Regions from separate parts of the Homo sapiens genome. Here region 2 is linked to region 1. The links are contacts of gene promoters, found by promoter capture Hi-C in blood cells and fetal thymus (Javierre and others, 2016). All regions are on one chromosome and are shown on one strand. Each heading gives the region's core, a stretch centred on a gene start or on the middle of the fragment in contact. The rest is flanking DNA. Distances are from core to core; before and after follow the strand shown.

Evidence for each region. The method cuts DNA at HindIII sites, captures the fragments that hold promoters and counts their contacts. A CHiCAGO score of 5 or more calls a contact.
Region 2: a fragment that was not itself captured here is called in contact with the fragment with the promoter of DPY19L3 in region 1 in 1 of 17 cell types (total B cells); the score reaches 5.3 in total B cells.

Annotation. Positions count from the first base shown.
Region 1 is chr19:32,403,779-32,407,769 of GRCh38, reverse strand. DPY19L3 (dpy-19 like C-mannosyltransferase 3) reads right to left here and starts at 2,000. Exons shown (of 19, transcript NM_001172774.2): 1 at 1,861-2,000. It overlaps DPY19L3-DT (DPY19L3 divergent transcript), which reads left to right and starts at 2,231. Exons shown (of 3, transcript NR_046201.1): 1 at 2,231-2,779. RefSeq lists silencers at 1,619-2,368, 2,399-2,448. The HindIII fragment of the contact is 5,769 bases long and covers 1-3,879 here.
Region 2 is chr19:29,934,603-29,938,593 of GRCh38, reverse strand. It overlaps a transcript of URI1 not described here. Among named protein-coding and RNA genes, the nearest start is that of URI1, 5.6 kb to the left of the region's middle. The HindIII fragment of the contact is 153 bases long and covers 2,019-2,171 here.

The DNA of each region.
Region 1 (3,991 bases), core at 751-3,250:
GCTACACTCAAAACACAATTCAAATATTTATTCAACTCAATCATATTTATTCATGAAGCATGTGCTCTACAGCAGGCCCTGCCAGGAGTCAGGAATACAGGTAAGCAACACAAACGAGCCACTGCTTTTCTTCCAGAACATCTTGGGACATTCCAGTTCCGGCTGATCTTCTCCCTCCCTGAGCCATAGCAGTTACCACGCAATGCGTCACGTAACTACACAGTTGTATATTATTTTCTACTTCCATAGGCGGTAGTAGGTCTTCAGTACCTCCCACAGAAGTGGCCACGTGGGAGATACTCCATAGTAAATGTGTTGACAACCGGATTTTGAAGAATTAAAATATTGTTTTGTCTCAGGTACCTGAATTTTAACACCAGTGTTCTATAAAACAATTCACACTGGCAGCTTCAGGAATACGCCTCAGTGGTGATGACTGCGGGGGTGTGCCAATCAGGGCAGCTGCTATCCCAGGGAGCGTCGGTGGGAGTAATGGGTGGGGGGGAGCAGGAGCCTGGTTTGGCAGCAGCAAGTGGGAGGCGGGGGAGTGGTGGCAGTGAGTAAGCGGGTTCCAGTCCTCCAGAACATCTTGCTTCACTCCTCTGAATAATGAACAGCCTCTTACTAATTATTTCTTAAATGTGACTAGTAGCCTGACATGATTGTTTCCACAGTTTATTAATTCCTAAGGGTAACTTGCTCTACAGAACAAACCAACTAACATTATACAATTCATGTATTCATTCATACCAAAAAAAAAAAAAAAAGCAGGAAGCCAGATTTAAGTACTGTGCTTTCAAGCACTGGAAATGGAGAATCTGGAACAGAGAGGGAGAAGAGGAGTGTTTAACAAAGTCCTACAGCCACAGATGGGCTTATCCCCCATGTGACCTCATCCTAGAGTCCTCCCTAAGTGTGAGAGGACTTTTTTAAACAATTCATATATTCTAATATGTTAAGGCAGAAAACCAACACATATTTAAGTACCAATTATGTGTCAGGCACTGCAACAGTCCCATGAACTAAGAAAAAAAGTTCCTCCATCAGATCAAAAGGAATGCCATTGTAAACAACTGAAAAGGGACCAGAAGCGATTCTTTATTAATAAGGACGACTAGCGCTAGCCGGGCGAGGCGGCTCATGTAATCCCAGCGCTTTGGGAGGTTGAGGCAGGAGGATGACTTCAGACCATGAGTTTGAGACCAGCCTGGGGAACAGAGCGAGACCCTATCTATACAATAAAATAGCCAGGCTCGGTGGTGCATGCCTGTGGTCCCAGCTACTCCAGAGGCTGAGGTGGGAGAATCGCTTGAGCCCAAGAGTTCGAGGTTGCAGTGAGCCGTGATAACGCCACTGCACTCCAGCCTGGGCGAGACAGCGAGACCCCTGTCTCTAAAAAATAAAAATAAAAAAGCCTAGCGCTCTAGTGAGCATCCCCTGGACGAGGCAGGCACCGGGTCCGCTTACCTACGCGCCACGCCCCTGCACACCTGGCGTCCCCATCAGGTAGGTCTCCAAGGACAGGGGCAGCCGGGAAGTTCAGGCACGCGCCCCAGCTCTCCCAAGACCGCGAGCGGCCGCCGGGGTCGCAGCCCAGGCCCTGCCTCGCCGCACGGCCGACGAGCAGAAGCCGCTCCGCAAACTTGGTCCTTCCGGAGCCCAGCCCGGCCCGCGTCCCGGCAGACACTCCCGCGCTCCGCCCCTCCCGACGCCCCGACGCCGCGGCCGCGCCCCCCGACTGCGCCACGCGGCGGGGAGGGGCGGCCCCAGGGGCTCGGGGCTGTAGCCGAGGGTTCCGCCGGCGCCCGCCCGCCCTCTCGGTAGACCCTCGCCCGCGCGTCCCGGCGCGCCGCCACAGACCTGCGGCCTCAGCCGTCCTCACGCGCGGCTCCGGGAGGGGAAGGAGGCCGACGGGGCTAGGCGGGAACGGGGCCGCGCCACGGGCCGCAGCGCGCCGCGGGTACAAGGAGGGCAGAACCGCCGCGGAGCTTTGTGGAAATGAGGGGCTGGGGGGCGTCAACAGCCCCGGGGAGGGGGCGCGCCGGAGAGGCCGGGCGGCTGCCCCCGCGCCCATAGGCCCCGGGAGCTGTTCGTCAACACTAGGCCCCGCCTCCTCCCGCGGTTCCCCGCCTCGTCTCGTGCTGCGCTGGCCGGAAGGAAGCGGCACACTTCCGCTTGCCTGGTCCGCATTGAGTCCGGTCTGTTCCGGAGACTCTGAGCGCGGCCGCGGAGCTGCAGTGGCGGGGAGTGGGGTGCGGATCTTGTGTTTGCGCACGCAGTCGCCGGCCACCTCAGGCCGGAGCTAGAGATACGGCTCGGGATAGGAGGGCCCGGCGGCTCTGAGGCAGGTTCGCCTCGAGCCGCACGGCCCGGAGCAGCGGCTCCGCGGTGGTCCCCGGGGCTTGAGAGGGGTGCGGGCCTGGGAGCCCCTGAGGGCCTGATTTACGGAACTCCCCCTCCTTCCTCCTTTCTGCCGTTCCCTGCTCTGTGGCGGATGCGCAGGGATCAGTAGGGACGGCAGCAGTAGGGCCACTCGGGCCTGCCCCGCTTCCCGCATTGCCCGGTTTGGCGCGCCGCCTCCGGGCCTTGGCAAAGCCCCAGCGCCCGATTGTCACTGACCAGTGCTTGGAAGTCCTTTACCGACTGCCCGTCAGCGTCCCGCGGAGAGGATTTTGCGTCTCCAAAGACGCCCCTCTTCCGAAAACAGGCTCCTCTGTGTTCTCAGTCGGGTATATTTTTCTGTCTCCAAACTAGATTGGCAGCCGTTTTTTGAGAGCAGGTACTGACTGTGCTTTATTTCTAGATACTTTTCTTAGTCACACCACGGAAAACACTAGGTGGAACCTTTTTTAAAATTATTTTTTACAGGTGAGGCTCTCAGTCTGTCGCCCAGGCTGGAGTGCAGTGGTGCTATCACGGCTCACTGCAACCTCGGCCTCCTGGGCGCAAGCGATCCTCCCGCCTCAGCCTCCGGAGTAGCTGGGACCACAGGCTCGCACTACTATGCCCAGCTAATTTTTAAATTTTTCGTAGAGATGGGGGTCTTGCTTTGTCGTCCAGGCTGGAGTGCAGTGGTGTGATCGTAGCTCACTGCAACCTTAGTCCCCTGTGCCCAAGTGACCCTGCTTCCTCAGCCTCCTGAGTAGCTGAGATTCATTTTAATTTTTATAGTGATGGGGTCTCGTTGTGTTGACCAGTCTGGTCTAAAACTCCTGAGTTCAAGCAGGCCTCCTGCCTCAGCTTCTCAAAATGTTGGGATTACAGGCTTTAGCCACTGCAGCGGGCCCATCAAACGTTGTATTTGTCAGTACATAATTTACATGTTAATTGATTTTTGTTAAAGGGATGGCCATCTGGGACCTCCACCCGTGAAAAGGCGGCTCATTGGTCTGACTCCAACACTAAATTACGCCATCCAGGAAGCCTTTCCTAGTCACCTCTGTTGGAGATCGTCCTCCTTTGTGTGTCGGTTGTTAGTAAAGAGCACACGTTCTGTGGAAAGATGTTGAGGTATCTGCTGGATGGCTTTGATAGAAACAAATGTCAGCTGTTTTTTCAGATGGCATTTGTCTTGTTTCAGCCTGGTTGTTGGTAGCTTTTCTGTCGCCTGGCTTGAGGGCAAGGACTGTATGTTTATTTTTCACGTTAAGATGCCTTTATGTGCATGTGTCTGTTTCATGAATACATAGGTGAATTGAGTTCCCCTTAAATAGGATTTCCCTCTTATTTTATAGGTTTTTTTTTTTCTCTCAAGTTGTTTCACTCTGGGGGAAATGTGACCATTGTGAAATATCATCGCTTAGTTAAAAAGAAAGTAGAATTCAGCAGTAGCTGCTTTTTTTAATACTATGAAAAGACATTCCTAAGCAAGATGAAGCTTTGAGACTTTTCCTAAGTAGGACCTACTGCTGAGAGTAAGTCTTGGGGAGAATAAGCCAATTAAGAATGAGTCTTTGGTTCTGATAAAGTAACCATGGAGGTGATGGATAAT
Region 2 (3,991 bases), core at 846-3,345, 2.5 Mb after region 1:
CAAGAGTTGACCAAGGCAAGCACCAGCCCTGTTCATAGATGTTGGAGTCAATAGAGGGCCACTAACATGGTTTGGATATTGTTCCCTCAAAATCTCATGTTGAAACGTGATCCCTAATGTTGGAAGTGGGGCCTAGTGGGAGGTGTTTGGGTCTTGGGGGCGGATCCCTCATGAATGGTTTGCTGCTCTTCTGCAGTAATGAGTTCACATGAAAGCTGGTTGTTTAAAAGAGCCTGGCACCTCCTCCTTCCTCTCTTGCTCCCTAGCTCTTACTTCCACTTGCCATGTGACGTGCAGCTCCCCATTTGCCTTCCACCATGATTGGAAGCTTCCTGAGGCCTCACCAGAAACCGAGCAGGTGTTGGTGCCACATGCTTGTATGGCCCACAGAACTGCGAGCCAAATAAACCTCCTTTCTTTACAAATTACCCAGCCTTGGCTGGGCACAATAATTCACATCTGTAATCCCAAAACTTTGGGAGCCCAAAGCAGATGGATCTCCTGAGGTCAGGATTTCGAGACCAGCCTGGCCAATATGGTGAAACCCCATCTCTACTAAAGATACAAAAAATTAGACAGGCAAACCTCATGAGACATGAATAAACAGCCAGGGGAGTTCTTGATGAAAAAAGAGGCTGCTGGTTGTTGGTAAGAGAACAGCAACAGGGTGGATGCAAAACAGCTGCCATGCCCCATTTCTCAGCCCTCACCCTACCATGAGGCTGCAGGAATAGCTTTCCTGGAATGGCTGGCTGGTTGCAAGGTGGGCAAGATGACCCTTGTCCTCCAAAAATTGGGGCATTTTTGAGTCCTGAGGGATTAGCACAGACTCCTGTATTGGTTTCAGCCCTCTTGTGCTTCCTATGGCAGCATCCATCAGGAGATTTGAAAGTAAAGAACACCTTTTTGTAGCCAGAAATTTACAGATATCATTTCCAGGTCACTGGTTGCCTGTAAAGATTATGAAACAAAAACATCAGTAACCACATGCAATAAGGACTACACACTTTGCAAACATAGTTTGGAAAAGTCTCTAAACAAACAGATGGCTGCAACCCTCAACAAGCAAAAATCAGCAATCCCTGAAGAGGAGGAGAATCTGATTTTCAGAGTTACTACAATAATACCCAAAATGCCAAGTGCTCAACAAAATATTACAAAGCATACAAAGAAAAAGGAAAGTATAGCCTATTCACAGGGGGAAAAAAAGAATTCAATAGAAGCCATCCCCAAGGAAGCCTTTACATTGGAAACATTAGTCAAAGACATTAAATCAACTGTCTTACACCCAATGAGCTAAAGGAAACCAAAATAATATATGAACAAATAGGGAAGGCCAATGAAGAGATAGTTTAATCTTATAAAAAGGAACAAAATAGAAATCCTGGAGCCGAAAAGTACAATAGCTTGAACTTAGAAATTCACTAGAGAGATCAAAAAGCTGATCTGAAGAATCAGGAAGAAGAAAGAACCAGTGAACTTGAAGATAAGGCAATTGAAATTGTCCAGTTGTAAAGAGAGAAAAATAAATAACGAAAAATAGGCTGGCCATGGTGGCTCATGCCTGTAATCCCAGCACTTTGGGAGGCCGAGGAGGGTGGATCACTTGAATTCAGGAGTTTGAGATCAGCCTGGCCAACATGGTGAAACCCCATCTCTACTAAAATACAAAAATTAGCCAGGCATTGTGACGCGCACCTGTAACCCTAGCTGCTGGGGAGGCTGAGGCCAGAGAATCACTTGAATCAAGAAGGAGGAGGTTGCAGTGAGCCAAGATCATGCCACTGCACTCCAGCCTGGGCAATAGAGTGAGACTCTATCTCAAAAAAAAGAAAAGGAAAAATGAACAGAGCCTGATAGATCCATGTGATGCCATCAAGCATATATCAACATATGCATAGTAGAAGTTCCTGAAGGAGAAGAGGAACAGGAAGGGACAGAAAAAGAAATTTGAAGAAATAATGGCTGAAAACTTCCCAAATTTGATGAAGGATATGAACATACACGTCCAAGAAGCTTAACAAATTACAAGCGCGAGAAACTCAGAGATTCATACTGAAACTCACAGCCAGATTGTCAAAAATCAGAAACAAAAAGAGAATCTTGAAAGCAGCAAGAGAGGAACAACTTGTAAGGTACAAGGAGTCCTCAGTAACATTAATAGCTAAGCTTTCATCAGAAACCATAGAGGGGCTGGGTGCAGTGGCTCAGGCCTGTAATTCCAGCACTTTGGGAGGCCGAGGTGGGCAGATCGCCTGAGGTCAGGAGTTCGAGACCAGCCTGACCAATATGGCGAAACCCCATTCTACTAAAAATACAAAAATTAGCCAGATGCGGTGGTGGGCACCTGTAATCCTATCTACTTGGGAGGCTGAGGCTGGAGAATTGCTTGAACCTGGGAAGTGGAGGTTTCAGTGAGCCAAGATTGCACCACTGCACTCCAGCCTGGGCACAAGAGCAAAACTCTAAAAAAGCAAAACTCCATCTCAAAAAAAAATTTTTTTTAAGTGCCGGGCACAGTGGCTCACGCCTATAATCCCAGCACTTTGGGAGGCCAAGGCAGGTGGATCATGAGGTCAGGCATTCTAGACCAGCCTGGTCAACATAGTGAAACCCTGTCTCTACTAAAAATACAAAAAACTAGCCAGGCGTGGTGGCGGGTGCCTGTAGTCCCAGCTACTTGGGAGACTGAGGCAGGAGAATTGCTTGAACCTGGAAGGCAGAGGTTGCAGTGAGCCAAGACGGCACCATTTCACTCCAGCCTGGATGACAGTGTGAGACTCCATCTCAAAAAAAAAGAAAAGAGAAAAGAAAAGAAAAGAAAAGAAAAGGAACCAGAGGCCCAGAGGCAGTGGAATAACACAGTTAAAGTCCTGGGGAAAAAAAAAAAAAAGACTGTCAACCAAGAATTTCCTACCAGACAAACTATCCTTCAGGAATAAAGGAGAAATTAAGACATTTTCAGATAAATAAACGCAGAGAAAGCTCATTGCTAGTAGCCCTGCTCTACAAGAGCTGCTAAAATGAATCCATCAGGCTGAAATGAAAGGAAACTTGATAGTAATTCAAAGCCATGATGAGAAAAAAAAAGAACACTGATAAAAATAGTAACTACATACATCAGTAAATATAAAAGCCAGTATTATTGTAGGTTTTGTTCATAATACTTTGTTTTTCACCTATCATTTAAAGGGCAAATGCATGAAACAATAATTATAAATCTATGTTAATGGGCACAGAATGTATAAAGATATGATCTGGGACAATAATAATATAAAGAGGGAGGGAAAGAGATGTATAGGAGCAAAGTATTTGTATACTCTTAAAACTAAGTTAGTATTATTCAAATTAGGGTGTTATAAATTTAAGATGCTAATTGTGATCCCCAAGGCAACCGCTAAGAAAATAACTAAAAAATATACAGACAGGGAAAGAAAAAAGGAATCAAAATGATACACTAAAATCTATTAAATACCAAAAAAATGTAGTAGTGGAGGAATTGAGGAACAAAATTTAAAAAATGTACAGAAAAGCAAATAGCTATTAAATAAATGGCAGAATTAAATCCTTTATTGGTAATTACTTTAAATGTAAATGGACTAAACTGTCTAATTAAAGGGCAGAGATTGATAGAATGGATTTCTAAAAATTATTAATTTATATGCTGTCTGCAAGAGACTTACTTTGGATCAAAAGATTCGAAAGGATGGAAAGTAAGAAAATAATATGGGCATGTTGGCTTATGCCTGTAATCCCAGCACTTATGCTACCAATCCCTGGGAAGCCAAAGCAGGTGGATCACTTGAGCCCAGGATTCAAGACTATCCTGAGCAACATAGTGAGACCTGGTCTCTAAAAATAAATAAATAAATAAATAAAATTAAAAAAAAATAAGCCAGGTTTGGTGGCACATGCCTGTAGTCACAGCGACTTGGGAGGCTAAGGCAGGAGGATTGCTTGAGCCCAAGAGGTCGAAGCTGCAGTGAGCTAT